Linked DNA regions of Homo sapiens: regions 1, 2, 3 and 4 are each linked to region 5. Evidence: promoter capture Hi-C in human tissues and cell types (Jung and others, 2019). All regions are on one chromosome and are shown on one strand. The core of a region is centred on a gene start or on the middle of the fragment in contact, and the rest is flanking DNA. Distances in the headings are between cores, read along the strand shown. Region 1 overlaps LINC02192 (long intergenic non-protein coding RNA 2192). Region 2 overlaps LINC02192 (long intergenic non-protein coding RNA 2192). Region 3 has its middle 76 kb from the start of LINC02133. Region 4 has its middle 44 kb from the start of LINC02133. Region 5 holds the start of ABCC12 (ATP binding cassette subfamily C member 12).

Region 1 (4,757 bases), core at 1,782-4,281, 280 kb after region 5:
AATGTTTTCCCCCTCTTTTCCCACCTACCATACAGAGATAGAAATTTCTCAAGGGTGAATAGCAGCCATTTGATCTTATTTCTCTAATAACTTTCACACTAGGAAATTCTGTTCTCAACAGCCTTTCAACAGCATCCTAAAATGTAGAGTTTAACGGTAGACATGAGAACAATAAAAATGACTGTGGCAATAAAAGTGATTCTCTAAACACCCACAGACCACCTTGCACCTCTTTAAACTTCCTGAGAGGTCATAATCAGGGAATGAGGACCAGACTCATTCATTCATTCAGCAGGTAATTACTAGTGCTGAATGCCAGGCATGGTTCTAGGTGCTGAGGGTGAACCAACAAGCTCCCTTCTCTCATTCACAAACAACTTCTTCAGGGGAACACACACCCACATTGGAGAAGTTGAGAATGCAGCTCCAGCTTGACTTGAAAGAGCTGGGGCGCCTCCTTGACCAGATGAGGGTAACGCTCCTGACTTGCCCACCTTACAGTTGTGTGTTGAAGTCAGATGAGGCCACAGGTGTGGAAGGAGTTGGGAAACTGAAGGACTCTTCAAGTTAAGGCATGTTTATTACTTGCCTTGTCTGTCCCTTTGGCCTTTCCCATGTGGAGGGGAACAATTGCATCTTGGGATCACACAGGATGAAGTGGTTAGGTAATGTCTTCAGTGTTTACCCAGAAGGAGGAGATGCCTGCTTTATCAATCGTTAGATAAAAAGGACTCCTGTCCACAAAGATTCACTGTTTCACAGCAAATTAAGGTGTTTTGCCTCAAACATTAGTGCTGGGAGATCCAAATCAAAGCCTGCAGCCCTGTGTTTGGATGTTTCTTATAAAGGTGCACTCAATAAATATTCATGCTATTCAAAGGCGTGAGAGCCAGAAAGGGTCACCTCAGCCATTCTCATTTTACCAGTGGGAAAACTGAGGTCCAAAGAGAGGAAGTGACTTGCCAGAGGCTGCTCAGCAGATTAGGGCAGAACAGAAGGGGAAGCCAGGTCTTAGTCCAAAGCACTTTCCACAACAAATTCAAAAGTGACCTTCCATATGAATGGTCTAGTTTATTCAATATATTTGTGCTGAGCACCTTTGGATGAATGGTCCTTGGGTAAGTGCCTTAGACAAGTGCTTTATTCAAATAAATGTCCCGGGTGCTTTTGGGGTTTTTCTGACTCAGGAGCTCTGAAGTGGAGCCTAGGAACCTACGTATTATGTATTACAGCAAATGCCTCTGGGTTATTCTAGGAGCCAGGCAAGTTTATGGAATGCCAGCCTGCATGGCCCGGGGCATGGTCTTAACCAAAGCTGGGCAGGACCATCTCAGAGCACACACTCCCAGGCTTCGCCTCCAGCGACACTTCATCATTATTTCACTGTACAGCAAATCCTCACTTCACGTCGCCAATATGTTCTTGGATGCTGCAACTTTAAGCAAAACAATATATAACGAAACCGATTTTACCATAGGCTAATTGATAGAAGTAAGAGTTAAGCTCCTATGTTTCTGGTCACAGAAACATCACCAAACCTCTAGAAAAAAACCCAAAACACTTCTGATATTAAACACTGAAATAAATTGAACTATCCATACATTAAGAAAGATTAATTAAAAACAAGTAAGATAATTATTTACCCAATTATTCCAGTTAAGGATTTCAGGAGCCCATCCCAGCAGCTCAGAGCACAAGGAAGGAACTGACCTGGCTAAGAGGCCGTCCCATGGCAAAGCACACACACCCGCACTCACTCCAAATGGGACAAGGAGACGCACTAGTGAGCCTCCCGTGCACGACTGGGATGTGGAAGGAAACCAGAGTATCCAGAAAAAATCACACAGGTATTGGAAGAACTTGCAGACTCCACACAAACAGTGGCCCCTGACGGGAATCAATTTCTTTTCCTTATCAATATTATAACAAAATGGCATTGAACAAAATGACATTATTTAAGGACCTGCTGTATTTCCAAAACCTTTCCTGGGTGAGCCTGATCCACACCATATGCTCAGGAAGTTCTGGCCTCGTTGTTAATTAGATCACTGCCATAGAGGCGGGGACACACCTGGGCTCAAGTCCCAGCTCCCCAGTCACCAGCTGTGTCACCTGGGGTAAAGTTATTTACCCTCTTCAAAACACAGGGGATAATAGCAATAGAGCCCAGCTCAGAGGGATGTTTTGAGGATTAAATGGCATGATATGTGTTGGGCCTTTAACACAGTGTCTGGCGTATGGACATCCAAAGAATGCTAGCTATTATTTTTATTTTATGTAGTCTGGGAAACCTATACTTATCTGATAGCCGAAGACTCCACATAAAGCTACAGCCTCATGAAGGTAAATAAGGTTGAAAGGGAGCATGTAACCAAACGTTTTGTACTGGACAGAAAAAAAAATACAAAAACCTTATAAATCCGAGGCTGGGTATGGTGGCTCATGCCTGTCATCCCAGCACATTGGGAGGCTAAGGCAGGAGGATCACTTGAGCCCAGGAGTTCAAGACAAGCCTGGTCAACATAGTGAGATCCTGTATCTACAAAAAAAATTGTTTAATGAGCTGGGTATGGTGGCACATCCCTGTAGTCCAGCTACGTGGGAGGCTGAGGTGGGAAGATCACTTAAGCCCAGGAGATTGAGGCTACAGTGAGCCATGATCGTGCCCCTGCACTCCGACCTGAAAAAATCCTATAGATAGGGAGTTTCAATAATAAACTTTGACCAAAAAAAAGAATCTGTTCCACTAGGTGAAAACTTCACTCTTTTCCTCCACATCTAAACTCTGTCTTCCTATATATTCTCCCCAGCTGAGGGACAATTCCTAGCATGAGCATTTCAGTATAGGAAGAGCTTGGAATGACCTTTGCATTCAAGCACACATTGTGGATTTCTCAGAAAATCTCCAAATCTTCCAAGGTTACTCAAGCACACACTGCTGAACTGATGATGTTCTGAATCAGGCCACTTTTTTTTTAGCACTTTCCCTGATGAGGGGTTACCATGAGCCATCCATTTTGTTGTTCTGCAAAGAAATTACCCCATTCCAGGGGATAAAACTGTTTCAAAGGAGCTAAGAAAATAAACACATTTTCTCTGTATTAAAGCCTCTGCCTTCTTTGAACTTCTCATTTTTAGAGTATCTCCACTGATAAGGACAAATGTAATTTTCACCATCAGTGGATCTGAACAGACAATTACATTAAGGCAAATAAGACAGGGTGAGGCCAATGATGTGAATCACATTGTATGCATCTCATGTGCAAACAAAACTCTCAGATAACAATGAACACCCTCGAAAAGCAGTCAACATTTTTTTTTTTTTTGCATCTAATCAGGGCCCAATTTGCATAAACATTTCTTTACCTACCACCTCCACAAAATCAGTTACTGGCATTTGGAGATCTGGGAAGAGGGGAGAATTCAGTCAACATTTAAGACATTTTCCCTAAGGGAACTGCTCAACTCCCTTAGGAAGGGCTTACAGGTGCCTGGCAGAAGCCATGCCCTCATTGCTGCAGCAGGGCAGGTTTACAAGGCACTCTCATGCGCGTTCCCTGATTGGTCCTCACCACAATACTCCAAGCTTGGAAATTCAGATCGTTTCTTATCTTTACAACGAAGAGAAACCCAAGATTACAAGTGGTTTCATAGGAAATGGCAGGACTGGGATTGAAGTCTTACTTTCCTCTGGAGAAGCCTAGGTTTGCCTCTGAAATCTCCATCCAGTCAATGAGTATCAGCCAATCCAGTAGGTTTGCAATGGTCTGATGCTGCTCTTACTCCCAAGCACAGAGGGAGACACTGGTTTAGAGCTCTGCAACGAAACAAAAACTTGGAAAGGGGCAGCAGGAACTGAGCTCAGCCCTGCTGAGATTACCATTTTTGCAAGTGGCGTTTGAGCCAGCCCAAGTGCGGGAAGCAAAAGGTTAGGCTCACAGAATGAACTCCGTGTTGAGCTTTTGTGTGCAGGAGAAAGGGAAAGAAATGATATTCAGGAAAGGAGTATGACGGAGACCATGGGGAGGGTAAGACAGGCCTGAAGCACATGTAGAGAAAGGCAACGGCCTGCTCCTTAAAGCCTCCCTAGTGCCTTGGCACCAAACAGAACAGAGGTCCAGGCAGATGTGCCTCGGAAAGGAAGTTGGCGGCTCGTGGGGTATTATTTGCAGGCTTCAACAAGCATGGCACTCAATGTTTGATGAGGGCCTTGGGTGCTATCCAATGTGGGGGTGCACTGGTGTCACAAAGCTAAGTGAACTCTCCCAGCCCACCCTCCACTCCTTGGCCATTGACTTGCTTCTGTCTCCCCCTAGCTGCTGATGTGGGTGGTGGAGGGCACTGATGCTACTTCTCTGTGTATGGGGGCAAGCATGGCACAAGAGGGAGGAAGGGATGAAGGTTGAGGTTTGCAGAATGGGTTTCTTTGGGTTTCTCCAGAGAAACAGATAGCCCATTAAAGGGTTCAGCCCTACGTTTTGCTACTTTATGCATCGTTCCCAGGGAAAAAAAAAAAAGAGACAGAGAGAAAGAAAGAGGAAGGATGACCATTATTGGTGGGGGAAAACAGCTTGCAATCCATGACCTAGACATTTACTGGGGCTCCATCCAGCTCTGAGGCTCTAAGATTTTCCCCTTTCTACCAAAAATGGACCTGCTTCATTTCTCTAGCCTAGTATTTTCTTGCAGTGAGGTAAAATATCAGCAGGTATTTTATATGGTACTTGAAAAGCATTATTTTGATAGTTATGCATTTA
Region 2 (4,965 bases), core at 1,163-3,662, 300 kb after region 5:
GGAGAGGCAAACCAGTTCAAATCCCACCTTCGCCACTTACTGCCATGCAGCCTCGGGCACATCACCTGGCCCCTCTGCGCCTCCATTGCCTGGTCTTTAAAAGGGGGATAATTAGCACAGCCTGTATCCAAGGACAGTCATCGGGATTGCTGAGTCCATGCCTGTGTTTTATCCCAGTGCCTGGCACATGCAAAGTGCCCAATAATAATAATTTGTTGTTGCTATTGCAGGGGCTCAATAAATGTCATTTCCCTCCTCAGGACGAGAGCCTTGGCACCTGAGCCAGATCATTCATTTCTTTTTCTCTTTTGATGCCAGTGATGACACATAACTTGCCCCAACAATGTAGCTCCCCGGGAAGATTTTGATGGGATAACAAAAATGTGTTTCTTGGGCTTTCTACAGCTACAGCCCTATGACTCCTGTCATGGAACTGTCAAAACAAGCTTGAAACATGCATGGGCTTTCTGCCAAGTCCTCTTGGAGAGGGAGAGATGTAGCATGCACTCCTTTCTTTCTCTCTGCACTGTCCCTACTCCCACCCACCCCGATCCTTCTGCAGCAACACACTGTGTCAGCCGTGCTTGAGTGGTTTGGTAAAACAGGGCTCATTTTAGCTCCCTTTGGCAGAACACAGGGTGGTGTGGAGACGGCCGGAGAGTAGAGGCACGTGAAAATGGTTCAGAAATGCCTGGGAGATGCCATCGGTTTGTACCAGGTGCTAGACGCTAGGGTTATGGCTGCTGTGCCCTCGTGGCTGACTTTGAGTCATGGCTTGTGAAACTCTGCATGCTGATCAGGAATCAGAGCAACTAAGGACAGACAAGGACACCCATCTACCTTGAGTCAGGTCCTTCAGAGTGATCTGAGATGCCAAGGGCAGCAGGTGGCTGCCAAACCTTATTGCCAAATTGTCATAGCTCCTTTGTTGTTTCTGGTTTTGATATCAATCTTGTAAAACAGAGACGCTCCTGCTTCCTAAGGTCTTGGAGTCAGGAATTTGTAAAAAACAATTTCACTTCAAGCTTCCACAAACACACTGTTTCCCCTGCCTCTGCTTCCCTGTTGTGACCAGGAAGGCGGTACTATCATACAGTTAACCCTCCACATGAGATAAATAGGAATCTTTTGAAAGCCACTGTATTCCATCCATAAATTATCAGCTGTACAGATGCAGACCTCTGGCTGACACAGAAATCACTCCTCCAAATCCCCACCATGTATAGGCATTTAGAAACAACTCATTGTACTTCACTGGTCCCCTGTTTCCCTTTAGAGAGGTTTATAGTGGTCAAGACTCTTGGGTACAGATGATAGAAACCCACCTGAAATTGACCTAAGCATGAAAGAAGACATACTATTCCCATGATAGAGACACTTGGGGGTAGTTCAGCTTCGGGCACAGCAGGATCCAAATGTCAAAAAAATATTTCCAGCCAGCTGCGGGGGTTCATGCCTATAATTCTAGCACTTTGGGAGACCAAGGTGGAAGGATGGCTTGAGCCATGAGTTTGAGACCAGCCTGGGCAAGATGGCCAGACCCTGTCTCTACAAAAATAAATTAGCCAGTCATGGGTGATGTGTGCCTGTAGTGCCAGCTACTCAGGAGGTGCAGATGGGAGAATGCCTTGAGCCCAGGCATTCCAGGTTGCAGTGAGCTATGATCGCACCACTGTACTCCAGTCTGGGCAACAAAGGGAGACCCCATCTCACTCTGTTGAGCTCGCATTGTCCAGCTATATATATATATATATAGCTGACATATATATATATATATAGCTGACATATATATATATAATAGCTGATATATATATATATAGCTGACATATATATATATAGCTGACATATATATATATAGCTGACATATATATATATAGCTGGACATATATATATATATGTATAGCTGGACATATATATATATGTGTGTATATATAACGATTTTATTACCTACATCTTAACATCTTACCTACATCTTACCAGTTTAGCCTCCCCAGGAGAGTGAGGTTTGCTTTACTAATATTTCCAGCAAAAATCTTAGCAAAGGATGGCCATGTCTCTGAGTGGCCCTACCCGTGTCTCATGCCTATCCAGGACCCAACCTCTGTGGCTAGGGGTATATCCTTACATGATCCCCATGTTAATAGCTGTTATTGACTACTATGTGCCAAGTCTTTAACTATATTATCGCTCATCTCACAACAAAATGAAAGATATCTATTTACTATCCCCATTTTTCAAGTGACGGAACAGGATTAGAGACGTTAAATAACTTGCCCAAGTTCACATCCCCCAAATGGAGAAACTAAAATTTTGGCTCAGTTCTCCAGGACTCCCTATCAGAGTGCCAAAATGGCCCATCTCCCTGCAGCTGCAGAATAAGTGAGCTGTCTCATAAAATGTGCATTCATTCCATAGACATTAATTAGGCACTGCTCTGTGCAGTCACAGGTTATGACTGGAAGATTCCTGGGACATTTCAGCACTCCAGGCACTAGCTTCCTCAAGCCCCATATGGACCCCTTCTGGAAACCCACCTGGTAATAAATAGTAGGACCCTGGTCTCTTGAGAGACACATGGCTCATCTGGTAATTCTGGGTAGTAGAACCTTTCCAAAGAGGAATAAGTCATCATTTGCAACTTCTGCCCTACCTGTTTGACTCACTCTCAAAAAGTCTACCATCTAGGTAAGATAAAAATAAAAAGGGGGTCACAGACCAAGTTTGCTTGGTCCCTATATTTTTTTCTGAATTGGATTTGTTACCAATACTGAAAAGATAGGACTAGTATTTCACATTCAAAGCCATGTTTCCGGTTTCTTCTAAATATATCAAATGTGGCAGCATTGAGGCCAGATTCTTACATGGCAAAGGTCAGTAGGAACTGACAAGATGACTGGCTGCTGCTTTGGGGTGGGGCGTGTGCTCTCCGGTTTGCCCTAGTCCCTTTCATTCCTTATTGCCTTACACCAAGGCTGCCTTACTCATTGACTTTACCTGCTGAGTGAGCAGCACAAATGCAGTGTGAAACAGCACAAAAAAGAGGCGATGAGCATGCAGAGAGAGGAGCAATGAGCTCCCCTGGGTGGAGAAGGGGAAATGAGAAAGAGGCCCCAGCCTTAAAGGAGGAGTAGGGTTTTAAATATCAAAGTTTCTTCACATGTAGGGTGGATTATTATTGGTAGAGTGGAGCACTGTGGGGAAGGGATTTGCCAAGGTGAGCGATAAGCATGGGAAAAGCTACAGGCAGAATGTCCACCTAGTGTTTGGGTAGCCCTGCCCGCAGAGGCAGTATGTCAGGAGGTCACATAATGGAGAACAGGCAAGATAAAAGACCAGCTGGACTGGATTCTGCAGCGGCCTCACCAGCCCACTGGGGCCTCTGAACACGCGCACACACACACACAACCCCAACACACACAGAAGCTCATGGGTCCAGAGGTGCACTAGTGCCCACTGGGCCCTAGGGACCTCCAAGTGGGCCTGGGGCTGGGAAGCTGTGCTCCAGACTCAGGCATACCTCGTGCTCCCCATGAATGTGATTGTATCCTCCACCACCCTGGTGGGCATCTTGACCCATCCTGCAGGGGTCAGGGCCTCTCGCTGCTCCTCCCACCATCTTTAACACCTGCCACCCTGGCTGCTCCTGAGCCAGCCTCCTCTCAGAACAGGGGATTGTCCCCAGCTGATTCTGGGTCCCAGAGTTCTGTGTTGCCCTCCTTGGGCTGGGGCCAGTAAGGTACACGAAGGGAGGGCAGGGAAGAAACAACCATGTGCCCAGCACATCTGGTGCTTCCTCCAGCCCCACTTTGAAGGTTGACATCCCTATCCTGACTCTCCAAGGAAGAGCCTGAAGCTCACAGAGGTTGATGACTGACTGCAGACAAGGCCTCTCAGCATCCATCTCATCCTTTGTAGCATAAGGATCATGTACAAGTCTCCCAAGTTTTTTGTGAAATTTAGAAATAGTGTGTAAAGTGCTGGCCTGGTGCCTTGTATGCATTCATTAGTTAAAAATAATTAGTGAGCATCTATTATACCCCAGGCATAGTGCTTGGCACTAAGTTACAACACTCAACAAGGCAGACTGTAGAGAGTTACAGTCAGGGGTGTGTGTGTGTGTCTGTGTTGAAATTCTGTGTGTGTGTATGTTGGGGTTGTGTGTGTGTGTTGGATGTGTGTGTGCTGGGTATGTGTGTGCTGGGTGTGTGTGTGTTGGAATTCTGTTGGAGGTGTGCATGTGTGTTGTGTGTGTGTGCTGGGTATGTGTGTGTTGAGATTGTGCTGGGCTTGTTTGTGTGTATGTTGGGATTCTGTGTGGTGTATGTGGTGTGTGTTGGGATGTGTATGTGTGTTATGGTTGTGTGTGTGTGTGTTGGGTATGTGTGTGGTGTGTGTATGTTGGGTTTGTGTTGAGGTTGTGTGTGTTTTGGGATGTGTGTGTCAAGATTGCGTGTGTTGGGGTTGTGTGTGTGCTGGATGTATGTGTGTGCTGGAGGTGTGTGTGTGTTGGAGTTGTGTGTATGTGTTGGGGCTGTGCGTGTGTGTGCACTGGAGGCATGTGTACGTTAAGGTGGTGTGTGTGTGCTGAGTGTGTGTGTGTTGGGATTCTGTGTGTGTGTGTTGGGGGGTGCATGTGTATTGGGGTTGTGTGTGTGTGCATTGGAGGGGTGTGTGCGTTGGGGTGGTGTGTGTGCGTTGGAGGTGTGTGTGTTGGGATTGTGTGCGTTGGAGGTGCATGTGTTGGGGTTGTGTGTGTGTGTTGGGGTTGTGCATGTGTGCACTGGAGGTGCGTGTGTTGGGGTTGTGTGTGTGCGCATTGGAGGTGTGTGTGTGTTGGGGTTGTGTGTGTGCGTTGGAGGTGTGTGCGTTGGAGTTGTGTGTGTGTGCATTGGAGGTGTGTGTGTGTTGGGGTTGTGTGTGTGCGTTGGAGGTGTGTGTCAGGGTTGTGTTTGTGCGCGTTGGAGG
Region 3 (4,825 bases), core at 476-2,975, 370 kb after region 5:
TCCCAGGCAGGATTGAGAAAAATGGACTAAAGTTCATTCTAAAGAGAAAAGGGAGGAAGGAGGGTCTCATTTTCTGACAGCTTTCCAAAGTTTCCTCCCACAAATTCTATCTTCTTTCCAATGCAACACCATAGCCACACACATCCTCAAAGCAAAGCCCGTTGTTGAAACGGGCCATTCAAGGGCACATACCACCATGTTTGGATGTTTGACCATCTCAGCCTTTGCTGTTCCAAATAAACAATTGGCATTCCAACCCACGAATTAAAAATCTCAAACATACTTTATAGCCAGCTCCCTCAAACCACAGCCTATCACTCAGCTCATATAGACAGGCCTTCATCCCTCAAAGTCAACTCACTGGGAATAAAAATATGTCTGGTCAAAGTTATTTTTCCTTTAAAATTGGAGTATTCTAAGAAGTTTTAAAAGGTTTTTTCCCTAACAATTTAGCTAATAGAGAGGGGAACCAAATATCGAAGTTGTCTATACCTTCCTAGTTCAATGCCAATTTGTTTTAATTTCAAACCTCTATATGATGAAATATAATGCAACTCAAGTAAGTAAATAAGTGACACTTTAGCAATCTTTACAAAAACAAAAACAAGAAAACATTTACTCAGGTCTTAAGAAGAGGAGGTGGGATCATTGGTCAGTAACCTTCGGACCAATAACAAAATGATTAAAAAAAAAACTTCAAAAATTTGGGGAGCGAATGTTGGTAGCTGTGTATAAGGAAGCATTTTCCAACGTAGTAAAAAGATTGGAATAGAAACATAAACGCTTGCAACATCACTTGTCTTAGGTCAGTTCTCTGGGAAACAGACTGAGATGGAGATTTTCATGCCAGAAGTTTATTAAAGAGTGACTTAGGAATTAGCACCTGTTTGACAGTGAAGAAAGCAGAAATGGGTAAGGGGAAAAGGTGAACTTTGTTGCAGAAACAAAAAAGCCTCAAATGATCCCATGTGGAGCTCTGGTGCTAGAGTTACCCTTAGTTGCCCAGCCTGGAGGCAAGCAGGCTGGACCTTTGCATCCCTCATTGGCCAGCCCAGTCATTGACCTCAGGAAGGGGCATGAACTTAGATGAGGTGGCTTTCTTGGGCTGAGGGCAAGTCCTACAAAGCTACTCAACCAAGAGTGGTTGGTTGCCACACTCCCTGCAGCTAAGGGAACAGATGCCTCAAATCTAAAGCAGATCTGAGCATCAAGCCACCACATTTTCTGTATCACTGAAGGCCAGGGGTATGCCTGATTGGTCCAGGATGCACGTCTGCCCTCACAGAATGCCCTCAAACTTTCAACATTTCCATCCTGCCTTCTGCCATTGGAATAGGTTCTCTTCCAACAGTACTCTCTGTTCACTGGCTTGGCTCTACCTGCCATCCAAACTGAGTCTACACAAACTTTGGTCTGCACTCTTATTTCCATTGAGGAGGGAAAAACCTGTTCTGGTGCACACGGACTCTCTGCTTCTCCTCTTTCCTCCATTCTAATGGCACTCACAGGGCTCCCAATGTTCTTGGCACTGCACTCAGCCTGGGATTTGCAAGATGAATAGGACACCAGCCCTGTCCTTGCAGAACTCACAATCTGTTATTACAGGAAACAATGAAGACAAATTTCAAAGCAGTGTGGTAAAAGCAATGATAAATGTCATGAACAAAATATTTTTGAGAAGCTAAAGAAAGGAATGACCAAACTCTGCTTTGAGAACATCAGAGAAAGCTTTCTTCTGGAAGAGATGCTTGACCTTGACTTTGAAAAGTGGGTTGAGAGCTGCCAGATGGGGAGCTGGAGAGTGGATGTGCTAGGCAGGGTATGTGCAGAGGTGCGGGGTAGGGGCTAGAGTCATTTAGGTTAGGGTTTGGGGAACTATAAAGTGTAGCATGGCTTGGGTATAGGGTATGAAGAGCCCGTTGTGTCAAGCTAATGAGTTTGGATTTTATTCTGTAAGAAACAGAAAGCTAAGCTAATGGAAATTTTCAAGTCAAGGGTGACATAATCAGATTTACTTATTATTAAAATATTTAAAGGAATTGTGAAAGAAGAAAGAGAATAAAGGGGAATTTCCAAATAGGAGATCAGACAAGAGATGCGAAACATTTTGTTATTAAATACTCCAAATTTAGAGAATGTACTGAATATCTGGTTAATATAATAGATTCAATAAATCCTACCCTTTTGGGATATTTGCTTCAGATATTCTAAAAATAAGAAATAAAAGCATACAGATACTGTTGAAGGCCTTATTGTGTCTCTTCCTTGATACTTCCCCTTCCTTCTCACTCCATACCCCCTGGGACAGGAGACAGGAGATACAGCCTGTGAGAGGAGGCTCTGGAAATAATTGAGGAGTGAGAAAATAAGGGATGGTTTAAAGCAATGGCAATTAGAAAGAAGGTGAGAGAACAGATTCAAGGGGCTTTCTGGGGTATAACTATAAAATTTGAGGGGAATAGATTAAATGAAGGAAAAGAGGAGGAGAGAAATGGATTACAATTCAGCCAGTGATACTGTTAAGGAAACTTAAGAATGGGAGTGGTCTTCGGAATACTACACAGCCACAAAAAAAAAAGAATAAAATCACGTCCTTTGCAGCAACATGGATGGAGCTGGAGGCCATTATCTTAAGTGAATTAATGCAGGAAGAGAAATCCAAATACCACATGCTCTCACTTATAAGTGGAGCTAAACACTGAGTATCCATGGACATAAAGAAGGAGAAACAGACTCCAGGGCCTATTTGGGGGTGGAGGGTGGGAGGAGGGTGAGGATAGAAAAACTACCTATCGGGTATTATGCTGAGTATCGGGGTAATAAAATGATCTGTATACCAAATCCCCACTCCATGCAATTTATCCACATAACAAACCTGCACTTGTACCCCTTGAACCTAAACTAAAAGTTGGAAAGAAAGAAAAAATCAGTGTGGCAAAGCAAGTTTGGATAAAACAATAAAGTTTTACTTGCATAGTTCTGGAGCTCCTTGAGATGTCAGGGCTAGAGTGACCCCCCTGACGTTCACATGTAGATGATGCGCTGAACTTTGGTCTCCTACACCCTCTGCCTTCTTGTTTCTAATTTTTGTCTTTATTGTAAACAGTATGTAGATGGAGCTTCTGAGGGAACTAATTGCCAGATCAGAATTACAGAGCTACGAGGAAGGGAGCATTTGGCATCCGGGATTTGAACATACCAAGGATGCGCGGGAATTCCTCTCTTATAGCTCCCTCTTGCCAGAATCGACTATTATCATTTTGACAAACATTTGCTAATCTGATAGGCAAAGAATTGCTTCCCTTACTGTTGTTTAAATTTGCATGTCTTTGATTATACTAGAAGTTGAACATGTTTCCATATGTTTGTTTACTGCTTTGCATTTCTTATTTTGTGAATCATCTGTTCATGTCCTTTGCCCATTTATCTAGTTAGGTTTAAATGTTTTCATCATCAGTTTTAAGAGTCCTTTATATAACAAAGCTATTAACCCAATGTCATGTGGCTGCAAATATTTTTTCCTCTGTGTTTGCCTTTTCATATGAGGTTGGGTTTCATTTTTCTTTTACATGCATATATTTTTCATACTTACGCTTCTGCTTAAAATCTTTCTGCATTCAATTCCTGAGCATGGTATGCAAGGCCCTTCAAGGAACAGCTCCTTCAACCTCTGTTCTGTCAGTTCATCCCACAAAATGCATGGTCTAGTTGTTCTCCTCCCACATAAATGCAAAAAGTCCTCCCATACTTCTAGGATGTAACACATCTTCCCAGGAGTCCTTCCTGCCCCCATTCACCAAAATAACTTCCAGTCCTTCCGGATGCACGGCAAGTCAGTGTGATGGAGGAGTTCCGTGCACGGGGTCCGGGTGAAAACTGCTGGCCTGGACTCCCAGCAGTTTGGCTTACTAGCTGCATTTGCCAGTTGACCTAAACTATCCAAGCCTCCATTTCCTTACATGTTAAATGAGAAAAAAAAAAAGGAGTGGTTCCTCAAAACATGAACCACAGAGTTACCATACAACCCAGAAATTCCACTCTTCAGCACAGTCTCAGGAGAACTGAAAACCTACTGCCATGGTCTGAACGTCTGTGCCCCCAACTCAAAATTCATATGTTGAAAGTTAACCCCCAAAGTGATTGTATTAGCGGCCTTTGGGAAGTGATCAGGTCATGACTGGGATTAGTGCTCTTTAAAAAGAGACCCTAGAGAGCCTACCTAGCCCCTTCTGTCATGGGAAGACACAGTAAGAAGGGGCCATCTATGAACCAGGAAACAGACCCTCACCAGGCACTGAATCAGCTTGCACCTTGCTCTTGGAATTCGGCCTCCAGAACTGTAACAAATAAATTTTCCTTCGTTGAAGCCCCCAGTTTGTCATGCTTTGTTATAGCCTCTCAGGAGACTCATATAATCACCAAAAGGCTGTTGAATGCCTGCTCGGAATTGAACACTCAGGAGAAAAGCAGCCCTAAGCGATGGATCAAGGAAAAGATGAATGTGGAGAGAGCCCAGCCTATGGGTCTCCCCATCTATTCCTCTCCTCTCACCTCCTGTCCTTCTTTGCCACACCTGCGACCTCTCCAGCTGCAGAAATATTTACCAGGCATTGTTTAAACAAAAAGGAGAGCTAGTTCTAAGAAGAGCAGGGAAGAATAAGATGGAACCAATCCGGAGGCCAGAACCAATGTCCTGGCTTATAATTCAGAGCAGCCTCCTCCCTCTCCCACCCCCAGGGTGACTTTATCCTGTAAATTAATCCCATGAATGGTTTAAGACACAGGCACTGAATTAAATGTGACTCATTTTCTATTGCAAATTCTC
Region 4 (4,481 bases), core at 1,295-3,794, 340 kb after region 5:
TTGCCAAATATTCTATCTCATTCACAAGGAAAAAGCTTGTTTTTACCAAAAAGTAATTACTGTCATTGAGTGACTATTCACTCTGTGCATAGCAATATAGGGTAATAATTTTATAATTACAATCTCACTCCTTAAGAAATTGTCACATATAACTTCAAGCACAAATAGTTTAAAGTTTATCATGGAAATTTTGAAACATCTACTAAACTAGATAGAATAAGGCAGAGTTGGAAAATTTTGTCCCATGAGCTAAATCTGGCCTGCCACCTGTTTTTGTAAATAAAGTTTTAGTGGAATGCAGCCACATTTATCCATTTACATATTGTCTATGGCTGCTTTCATGCTGCAATGGCAGAGCTGAATAGTTGTGATGGAGACCATATGGCCTGCAAAGCCTAAAATATTTACTATCTGGCCCTTTAAAAAATAGTATACTGACCACTGATCTAATGAACACCTATAGACCCATCAGTCAGCTTCAGCTCATTAGAAGCATGCATTTGCAGGTGAACTTGACTGTTCGAAGTCTTTCTTAGTGCCCCTTATAAGCCATTCAATTATTTATGCAACATAAATATCAACAGTTAAAAATTGTTGCAAGTACATGTACAATAACCAAATCAAGAAAATGTTTAGATAACAACATGGGATTGCTGTGATTTCTTCTTCCCTCTCTTGATGTATGTCACTCTGGAGTTGGGTACTGTAGAAAAAGAGAGTAGCACAAAATCCAAGGCTGAGAAAGTGAAAAGGTGCTTCAGAGAGGTGGGTGGCAGTGTAGGAGTGAAGGAAGAGCCGACAAGGAAATCTACAGAATCCTCTCCCCTTATACCCCAAGCCCCAGGAACCTGCCCAGCATACACCCCCAGCACTGATTCCAAGATTTTCTTAAGCTCGGCCCCTCGCTTGCTCTGCTGTATAGAGCAGCTCATTCACCAGCTCTGGCCAATAAGTCCACAGAAGACTCAAGTTTGCCCTGAAATACAAGGGCATGATCCTTGTCTTACCACAGGATTCTTCAGATCAAATGCATATATGCATACATGTGTTTCTTCAGAACACTGTAGTTCACACTCATAGTAGATTTGTAGTTCACACTGTAGTTCATAGTGTGGTAGATCTGAGAAATCATGTGGTGGGACCATCCAATTAACACTCAAGAATTTGGAGTGATGACATCACTATCATCACAAAAATGCAAGTTAAAACCACAATGAGATGCCATCTCACACCAGTCAGGGTGGCTATTATTAAAAAGTGAAAAATAACAAATGTTGGCAAGGCCATGGAAAAAAAGGAATGTTTATACACTTTTGGTGAGAATGTAAATTAATTCAACCCCATGGAAAACAGTATGGAGGATTTCTCAAAGAACAAAAAATGGAACTATCATTAAACTCAGCAATCAAACTACTTGGTATCTACCTAAAGGAAAGGAAATCACTCTATCAAAAAGACATCCACATTCGTGTTTATCATCACACTGTTGACAATAGAAAAGTCATGGAATCAACCTAAGTACCCAACAACAGTGTATTGGATAAAGAAAATGTGGTCCAGCTACACCATGGAATAGTATGCAGCCATAAAAAAGAACAAAATCATGTCCTCTACAGCAACATGGATGCAGCTGGAGGTCATTATCCTGAGTGAATTAATGTGGAAACAGAAAATCAAGTATCACATGTTCTCACTCATAAGTGGGAGCTCAACAATGGGTACACATGGATGTAAAGATGGAAACAATAGACACTGAGGACTCTGAAATGAGGGACAGAGGGAAGGAGTCAAGGTTTGAAAAACTACCTATTGGGTACTATATTCACAGTCTGAGTGGTGGGTTCAATAGAAGCCCAAACCCCAGCATTATACCATACACCTGTGCAACACATCTGCACACGGACCCTCTGGATCTAAAATTAAAAATACTCCAGGCACAGTGGCTTATGTCTGTAATCCCAGCACTTTGAGAAGCTGAGGTGGGTGGATCATTTGAAGTCAGGAGTTCAAGACCAGCCTGGCCAACATGGCAAAACCCCGTCTATGCTAAAAAAAAACAAAAAACAAAAAACAAAACAAAACAAAAACACACACACAAAAATTAGCCGGGCACAGTGGCCCATGCTTGTAATCCCAGCACTATGGGAGGCTGAGGCGGGCAGATCACTTGAGGTCCGGAGTTCAAGATCAACCTGACCAACATGGTGAAACCCTGTCTCTTCTAAAAATACAAAAAATTAGCCAGGCGTAGTGGCACTTACCTATAGCACCAGCTACTCGGGAGGCTGAAGCAGGAGAATTGCTTGAACCAGTGAGGCGGAGGTTGCAGTGAACCGAGATCATGCCATTGCACTCCAGGCTGGGCAAGAGAGGTTCTGTCCAAAAAGAAATAATAATAATAATTAAATAAATGACATTGAAAAAAATGAATTTGGAGAAAAACAAATCAACATCAATAACAACAAAGGGGAGAAGTTCTTCCTTTGTCTTCCCCATGTCTTGTAACATTTTTCAATGTGCTTTCAGATTTACCTATTTATTTTATCCTCAGAACCTGCCTTTGAGGTATGTAGGCAATTTACCTGAATCTGCCTTTTATAGATGAGGAGTTCAAAGCACCGAGAGAGAAACACCATTTCTAAAGGTCATGTAGGGGCAGGATAGTCCTGAAAGCCAGATGGGGAATCCAAGCAATCTGACTTTGACTTCAGATTCTAATGCATGCCACCTCTGTCTCCTTAAGCAAATTTCTTAACCCCATTTTATGTCTTTTTTCTCCTTTGTAAAAAGTGGATAACACCTAACAGGTATTTAACAAATTTTTTCCATAATGTAGTATCCTAGAGAGAAAAAAAGAAGCTCAACATGATTTTTTAAAACTTGTCTGGAGTGCCCTGTGGGGTGGAGCCAAGATGGCCAAATAGGAACAGCTCCAGTCTACAGCTCCCAGCGTGAGCGACACAGAAGATGGGTGATTTCTGCATTTCCAACTGAGGTACCAGGTTCATCTCACTGGGGAGTGCAGGACAGTGGGTGCAGCGCACTGTGCGTGAGCAGTGAGCAGGGAGAGGCATCGCCTCACCTGGGAAGTGCAAGGGGTCAGGGAATTCCCTTTCCTAGTCAAAGAAAGGGGTGACAGACAGCACCTGGAAAATTGGGTCACTCCCACACTAATACTGCGCTTTTCCAATGGGCTTAACAAAAGGCACACCAGGAGATTATATCCCGCACATGGCTCGGAGGACCCTACACCCACAGAGCCTCACTCATTGCTAGCACAGCAGTCTGAAATCAAACTGCAAGGCAGCAGTGAGGCTAGGGGAGGGGCGCCCACCATTGCTGAGGCTTGAGTAGTAAACAAAGTGGCTGGGAAGCTCAAACTGGGTGGAGCCCACCACAGCTCAAGGAGGCCTGCCTGCCTCTGTAGGCTCCACCTCTGGGGGCAGGGCACAGACAAACAAAAGGCAGCAGTAACCTCTGCAGACTTAAATATCCCTGTCTGACAGCTTTGAAGAGAGTAGTGTTTCTCCCAGCATGCAGCTTGAGATCTGAGAACAGGCGGACTGCCTCCTCAAGTGGGTCCCTGAACCCCGAGTAGCCTAACTGGGAGGCACCCCCCAGTAGGGGTGGACTGACACCTCACACAGCCGGGTACTCCTCTGAGACAAAACTTCCAGAGGAACAATCAGGCAGCAGCATTTGCGGTTCACCAATATCTGCTGTTCTGCAGCCACTGCTGCTGATACCCAGGAGTTTGTTGGAGTGGACCTCCAGCAAACTCCAACAGACCTGCAGCTGAGGGTCCTGACTGTTAGAAGGAAAACGAACAAACAGAAAGGACATCCACACCAAAAACCCATCTGTACATCACCATCATCAAAGACCAAAGGTAGATAAAACCACAAAGATGGGGAAAAAACAGAACAGAAAAACCAGAAACTCTAAAAATCAGAGTGCCTCTCCTTCTCCAAAGGAACACAGCTCCTCACCAGCAATGGAACAAAGCTGGATGGAGAATGACTTTGACAAGTTGAGAGAAGAAGGCTTCAGAAGATCAAACTACTCCAAGCTAAAGGAGGAAGTTCGAACCAATGGCAAAGAAGTTAAAAATCTTGAAAAAAAATTAGACTAATGGCTAACTAGAATAACCAATGAAGAGAAGTCCTTAAAGGACCTGATGGAGCTGAAAGCCATGGCATGAGAACTACGTGACGAATGCACAAGCCTCAGTAGCCGATGCAATCAACTGGAAGAAAGGGTATCAGCAATGGAAGATAAAATGAATGAAATGAAGTGAGAAGATAAGTTTAGAGAAAAAAGAATAAAAATAAATGAACAAAGCCTCCAAAAAATATGGGACTGTGTGAAAAGACCAAATCTACGTCTGATTGGTGTACCTGAAAGTGACGGGGAGAATGGAACCAAGTTAGAAAACATTCTGCAGGATATTATCCAGGAGAATTTCCCCAATCTAGCAAGGC
Region 5 (4,806 bases), core at 1,787-4,286:
TGCATCAGCATGCCCGGCTAATTTTTGTATTTTTAGTAGAGATGGAGTTTCAACCATGTTGGCCAGGCTGGTCTTGAACTCCTAGCTTCAGGTGATCTGCCTGCCCAAGCCTCCCAAAGTTCAGGGATTACAGGTGTGAAGCACCATGCCCGGCGAGAACCTCACTTTGGAATAGAGACCCCACAGAACCTCAGAGCTGGGAAAATTTCCTTCCCATCAAGCACCAATTTTCCCTTGCCATGGAGCACCACTGCTGGTATGTGCGCACACAGACCCCTAATTTATGCATGTATAGTTATTTACAAGGATGTGCAGGGTGGACATGTGTTGAGGCTCGGACAACAATACCCCAAAGTATGGCACTTTGGCAGGCTGAGTACTTTGAACTGATGGAGTTTGGATGACCTCAGAAGCAGCCTCAGAAGCAAGTTCTCTCTGACCTTCTCCTGCCCTCCTGCACCCCTTGTGCACCTCTTCTCCCATGAGGTGAGTCATAGAAACCAGAGTTCCCCTTCCCCAAGGTGAGTCATAGAAATTCTTCCCCCAAAGCCACCGATAGAACCTAAAACTATGACTCAAACTTTCCTCCACCCTTCTGCACAGGAGCTGGCCGTAAAGAAATTCTCTGACCAACTTTGTCTGAGAGTAGGTCCTAAGACCCTCATTCCAGAGGGGTCGTGCCCCATACCTAGAAAGAAGAAATGCTGTGCAGAGAGGCCAAGAAGAATCTGAACAGACAGGCCCTGCTGGGTCCCCATCCCATCACCTCGGTCCATTACAGTTAATCAGAACTTTCTGTCCAATCGCATTTCTATACCACTGTCCATTCCTCATTGAGTCTAAGCATAAAAATGGACAGTTCTTCCTGAGCCTTTCGGTATTCATTTCTGAAGACTCACATGTCACATTAAACTTTGATGAAATAAAATTGTTATGCTTTCCTTTTGTTAGTCTGCCTTTTGTTACAAGAGTGTCAGCCATGACCCACATGACTGGTGAGGAAAAGTATCACACTTTTTCTCCCCTACACATGTATATCACTGTACACAATTTTTTTTTTTGAGACAGAGTCACTCTCATCATCCAGGCCTGAATGCAGTGGCACGATCACAGCTCACTGCAGTCCTGACTTCCCTGGCTCAATTCATACTCCCACCTCAGCCTCGCAAGTAGCTAGGACTACAGACACATGCCACCACGCCCAGCTAATTTTTGTATTTTCAGTAGAGATGGGGTTTCACCATGTTGCCTAGGCTTGTCTTGAATGCCTGGGCTCAAGTGATCCACCTGCCTTGGCCCCCCAGTACTGGGATTATAGGCCTGAGCCTCTGCACACAGCCAAAATAGAATTTTTAAAGGAAGAGGAGAAATATGAAAAGGATTTCTATTTTTTTTCTTTTTGTATTCCAGTGGATTATCTCGCCCCCCCGCGAGCTGTGTGTACACCCAGGATGGGCCTCAGTTCCCTGACTATGGGTGAGTCCACGCTCTGCCTGGAACAGGAGCTTGGCTGGTCTTTTCCTAAGGACTTCCTTGGATACAGACCGGACAGTCCCTCTCCATCATTCTCCACTCTGTTTCCGGCTAGGCCCACCAATCTTCTTGCGTAGCGCCCAATACTGTTTGTCTGGGTGGAAATCCATCTCCGCCCAGCCTTTCATGGAGATAGAGGAAAACTGATCGGCATTCTTCCTCCATAAACTTGACAGCACTTGACTCCGTTTGGAAGATTGTGGAAGCGAGTCTTTGCTGTGTTTATGAGACCCCCGGGGTTGTTGCGAAGATCAAGTGATAAAGAGGATGAAGAATTTTGCGATACACAAAGGGCTCCAGAAATGTCGAGTGATATTATTAGCAGTGATTTGCATTCATGAAGGGAAGAATGGACGGAAATTAAATGGAACACTTTGGACACGTGTAAGGAAACTGCTGTCGGTCTAGCTCACTCCCCAGGCCGGGGAGCCTTCCTGGGAGGACCCATTTTCCTACACAGCTGCCCACAGCCCCTCTCCATTTCCACCTCCCTCTAGGTAGGAAGGGAACTCAGGTTGGGCAAAGGCGGTGAATTCGCATCTCCAGGAAGCGGCGGGGCCGGAAGGCAGCCAGCAGGGGGCGGCATTGCGCAGGACAGGAGAAGGTAGCGGCCAAGTTCCTCATGAAATCCACGTGCGTGAGGCTGGGAAGGTCCTCTAAGATGTTTAAATAACCCTTAAAGCGGAATCAAGATTTGTTTTTTTCTGCAGTTAGAGAGTTTGCTCCCTCCCAGCCGGCTCGCTGAGCGCTGTGGAACCCTTCGGCTGGGCTCCCCTGAAATCGGGCGCTTGTTCTGGGACAGGCGCAGAAGGGACCCCGGGAATCACGCTTGCGCTCGGGATGTGCAGGGTTCCAAGGGTGACACAGGGGAACTTTTCTATGCAAGGGCTAGCTGCTAGTGCAGGTCTCAGACTTACCTTCCGTTCATTTCAAGACAAATTGAGCTCAAATTACCCTTTTCTTTTTCGTTAAATGAATGGGGAATGAATGAATGAGATTTTCTGTTTTGAAGATGAGGCTCATCTCCCCTCCCCTCGCCTCCCCTGCCCTCCCCTACCCCTGCCCTCCCCTACCCCTGCCCTCCCCTCCCCTCCCTTCCCTTCCCCTGATCCCAAAGTTGATTCCCGGTTGCAGGAACACAGCGTAGAAAATTCGATGCATTCTCTCAGGAAGGAGCCTGGAGTGGGACTCAGGGGACCTGGGTGCTGGTCTCAGCCCCACGCCAGTCGTGGACAGGCTTCTGTTCCTTGGGCTTCTCGTCTGTAGAATGACGGTTGGAGAGAGGATTTTTCTCCTTCTCTTCTACAAGGATGTGCTGTGACAGCCAGGGAAGGGCTGGCCATGCACAGTGCTTTCATGCATGGGCTCTGACTGTCACCAAAGAGCCAGACCCGGCCACAGGCCATCCTGGAAGAGGGGAGAGCCCTTTAATGTGGGCAGAGGGAATGTTGGCCCGCCAGAGTTCCCTCTCAGGTGTGGTGGGAGTGGCAGTTGAATGGGGCAGTTGGAGAGGAGGACTTCAGGCGGGTGGGACAAGAGAAACTGAATCTGAGGTCCTTGGGGAGAAGCAGGCCCTGGAGTCCTGGGCAGCAGATGCCAGGCTCTGAGCCCCATGACTGCTGACCCTCCTCCCCTCCCTCTCATCCTCAGCCCAGGTAAAGCTTCATTTCCAGCCCAGGTAAAGCTTCTCCCTGTAACAATTAGTGGCCACCATTTAGTCCCAAGGGCCTTTGTTTCTCATCCTCAGGACAGGCTGTGTGTGTGTGTGGTGGGGGGTTTGGGGGAGGTGACACCACTGAATGGGGCTGCCCAAGTGGGAGGCAGCAGGGACGAGGCTCCCAGAAGAAAGGCAGCCCCTCTTCCACTTTTGGAGCCCCCGCTATCATAAAAGAAAAGGCAGAAATGCCAAGACGCGATTTCAAAATCTCTGAAATACAAAAGCCTACATTGAATATTTTAAGTCTTTTCCCACACATGCACAAACACAAACACATATACAGGGTAGTGTTCACAATTTAATTATGGGATTTATACCTCCCCCCCAAAAAAAAAGACCTGGAAAGCTTTACTGCAGTTCTCATATGAGGTTTTCATCTTTCTTTCTTTTTTTTTTTTTTTTAACTTTTAAATATATTATTTTCCTGGGAGGGTAGATTTGAATTGCTCTGAATCCAGGCTCTGCATCCTTCTTTGATCGTGTCGGAATGTGTCTGTAACTGGATGGATGACCTCTTTTGGAGATGCCATCACTGGCCACTGTTTTAGGCCTTCTGGGAGATGAGGGTACTTGAGCAAAAGCACCCCCACTTCCCTTCCCACACCCCCAGCTTGGTGCTGTCCCCTGCATGCACTTCCCTCTGCCACCTCTCTGCCTCTCCCTGCCTCCCAACCCCAGTCCCTCATCACTCACAGGGCTTTCTGATCTGGCTGCCACAGGTGCCTGGGACCTGGGGACAGACAGGAGAGGTGCGGTGCAGGCAGGGCCTGGGAGAGCTCCCCAGTGTCTCCTCTGTGCTGGAGGCCAGTCAGGCCCTGGAGGAAGGGGCTGTGGGAGTTGGGGGAGACCATCAGATATTGATAACTTTGGTGGCTTTAAATTAACAATGGATTTATTAAGAAAGAAGTAGGGCTGTAGTCTCATACCTGGGAAAAATTTTATGACTAAAGGTGTGCCTGCTTTTGGTTGATGGAGGAACTCCCATCATGAGCACCAAGGAAGACCCAGAGTCCAGTTCTCAAACATAAAGTTGTTAATTTTCTGGGCTAGACAGGGGCAGAAATGAAATATAACAGAGCAAAGTGGGCAGGTGTGGAAAATGGTTCTTCTTGAGATGACTTCTAGACATCTTTTGTTCTCTCTTGGGGCAGAGACAAGGATAGAGAAAAAGGCCTCAGGAAACACTATAAGGAAGACAGCAGTGCCAATGCAATAATAAATGTTACATGACCCCAAATCTCAGAGTCACAGAGACAGTAAGGAGTGGTGGGGATTGTGGCAAACTAAAGCATGTATACCCTGCCCAGGAGGGGCTGCCGTGCTCAACGTAAGTGGATTGTCACCACATGAACATACAGAGCTCTTGATATTTGACGAAAGCCAGAAGCCAGTCTTATTTTTTTTTTAATGTGGTATCTCCTCATTTTTAAATGTTTTCCACAAATTGGAAAAAAATGTTTAAACTATGCAGGCCATATAAAATGGAACTGCAAGTTGTACATGGTCTTTGTGTCCTGTGCTCTAAACAGAGGCCTTCCTGCTTCTGCCTGTCCAGT

What was found. Contacts are between HindIII fragments. The study calls those that stand out against the background at their distance.
Region 1: a fragment that was not itself captured here is called in contact with the fragment with the promoter of ABCC12 in region 5 in 1 of the 25 tissues and cell types used here (mesendoderm cells).
Region 2: a contact is called between a fragment that was not itself captured here and the fragment with the promoter of ABCC12 in region 5, in 2 of the 25 tissues and cell types used here (H1 embryonic stem cells and mesenchymal stem cells).
Region 3: a fragment that was not itself captured here is called in contact with the fragment with the promoter of ABCC12 in region 5 in 2 of the 25 tissues and cell types used here (dorsolateral prefrontal cortex and lymphoblastoid cells).
Region 4: a fragment that was not itself captured here is called in contact with the fragment with the promoter of ABCC12 in region 5 in 4 of the 25 tissues and cell types used here (IMR-90 fibroblasts, dorsolateral prefrontal cortex, lymphoblastoid cells and 1 more).

What each region holds. Positions count from the first base shown.
Region 1 is chr16:47,873,188-47,877,944 of GRCh38, reverse strand. The region is part of intron 1 of LINC02192 (long intergenic non-protein coding RNA 2192); the gene reads left to right. All of the region lies in intron 2 of LINC02133 (long intergenic non-protein coding RNA 2133), which reads right to left. Among named protein-coding and RNA genes, the nearest start is that of LINC02192, 12 kb to the left of the region's middle. The HindIII fragment of the contact is 4,464 bases long and covers 800-4,757 here.
Region 2 is chr16:47,854,329-47,859,293 of GRCh38, reverse strand. All of the region lies in intron 1 of LINC02192 (long intergenic non-protein coding RNA 2192), which reads left to right. LINC02133 (long intergenic non-protein coding RNA 2133) reads right to left here and starts at 713. Exons shown (of 6, transcript NR_110650.1): 1 at 1-713. The HindIII fragment of the contact is 3,351 bases long and covers 737-4,087 here.
Region 3 is chr16:47,780,319-47,785,143 of GRCh38, reverse strand. No RefSeq gene overlaps it. Among named protein-coding and RNA genes, the nearest start is that of LINC02133, 76 kb to the left of the region's middle. The HindIII fragment of the contact is 3,218 bases long and covers 117-3,334 here.
Region 4 is chr16:47,812,524-47,817,004 of GRCh38, reverse strand. No RefSeq gene overlaps it. Among named protein-coding and RNA genes, the nearest start is that of LINC02133, 44 kb to the left of the region's middle. The HindIII fragment of the contact is 9,923 bases long and covers 1-4,481 here.
Region 5 is chr16:48,154,223-48,159,028 of GRCh38, reverse strand. ABCC12 (ATP binding cassette subfamily C member 12) reads left to right here and starts at 3,036. Exons shown (of 31, transcript NM_001393797.1): 1 at 3,036-3,188. RefSeq lists an enhancer at 1-1,052. The HindIII fragment of the contact is 12,201 bases long and covers 1-3,407 here.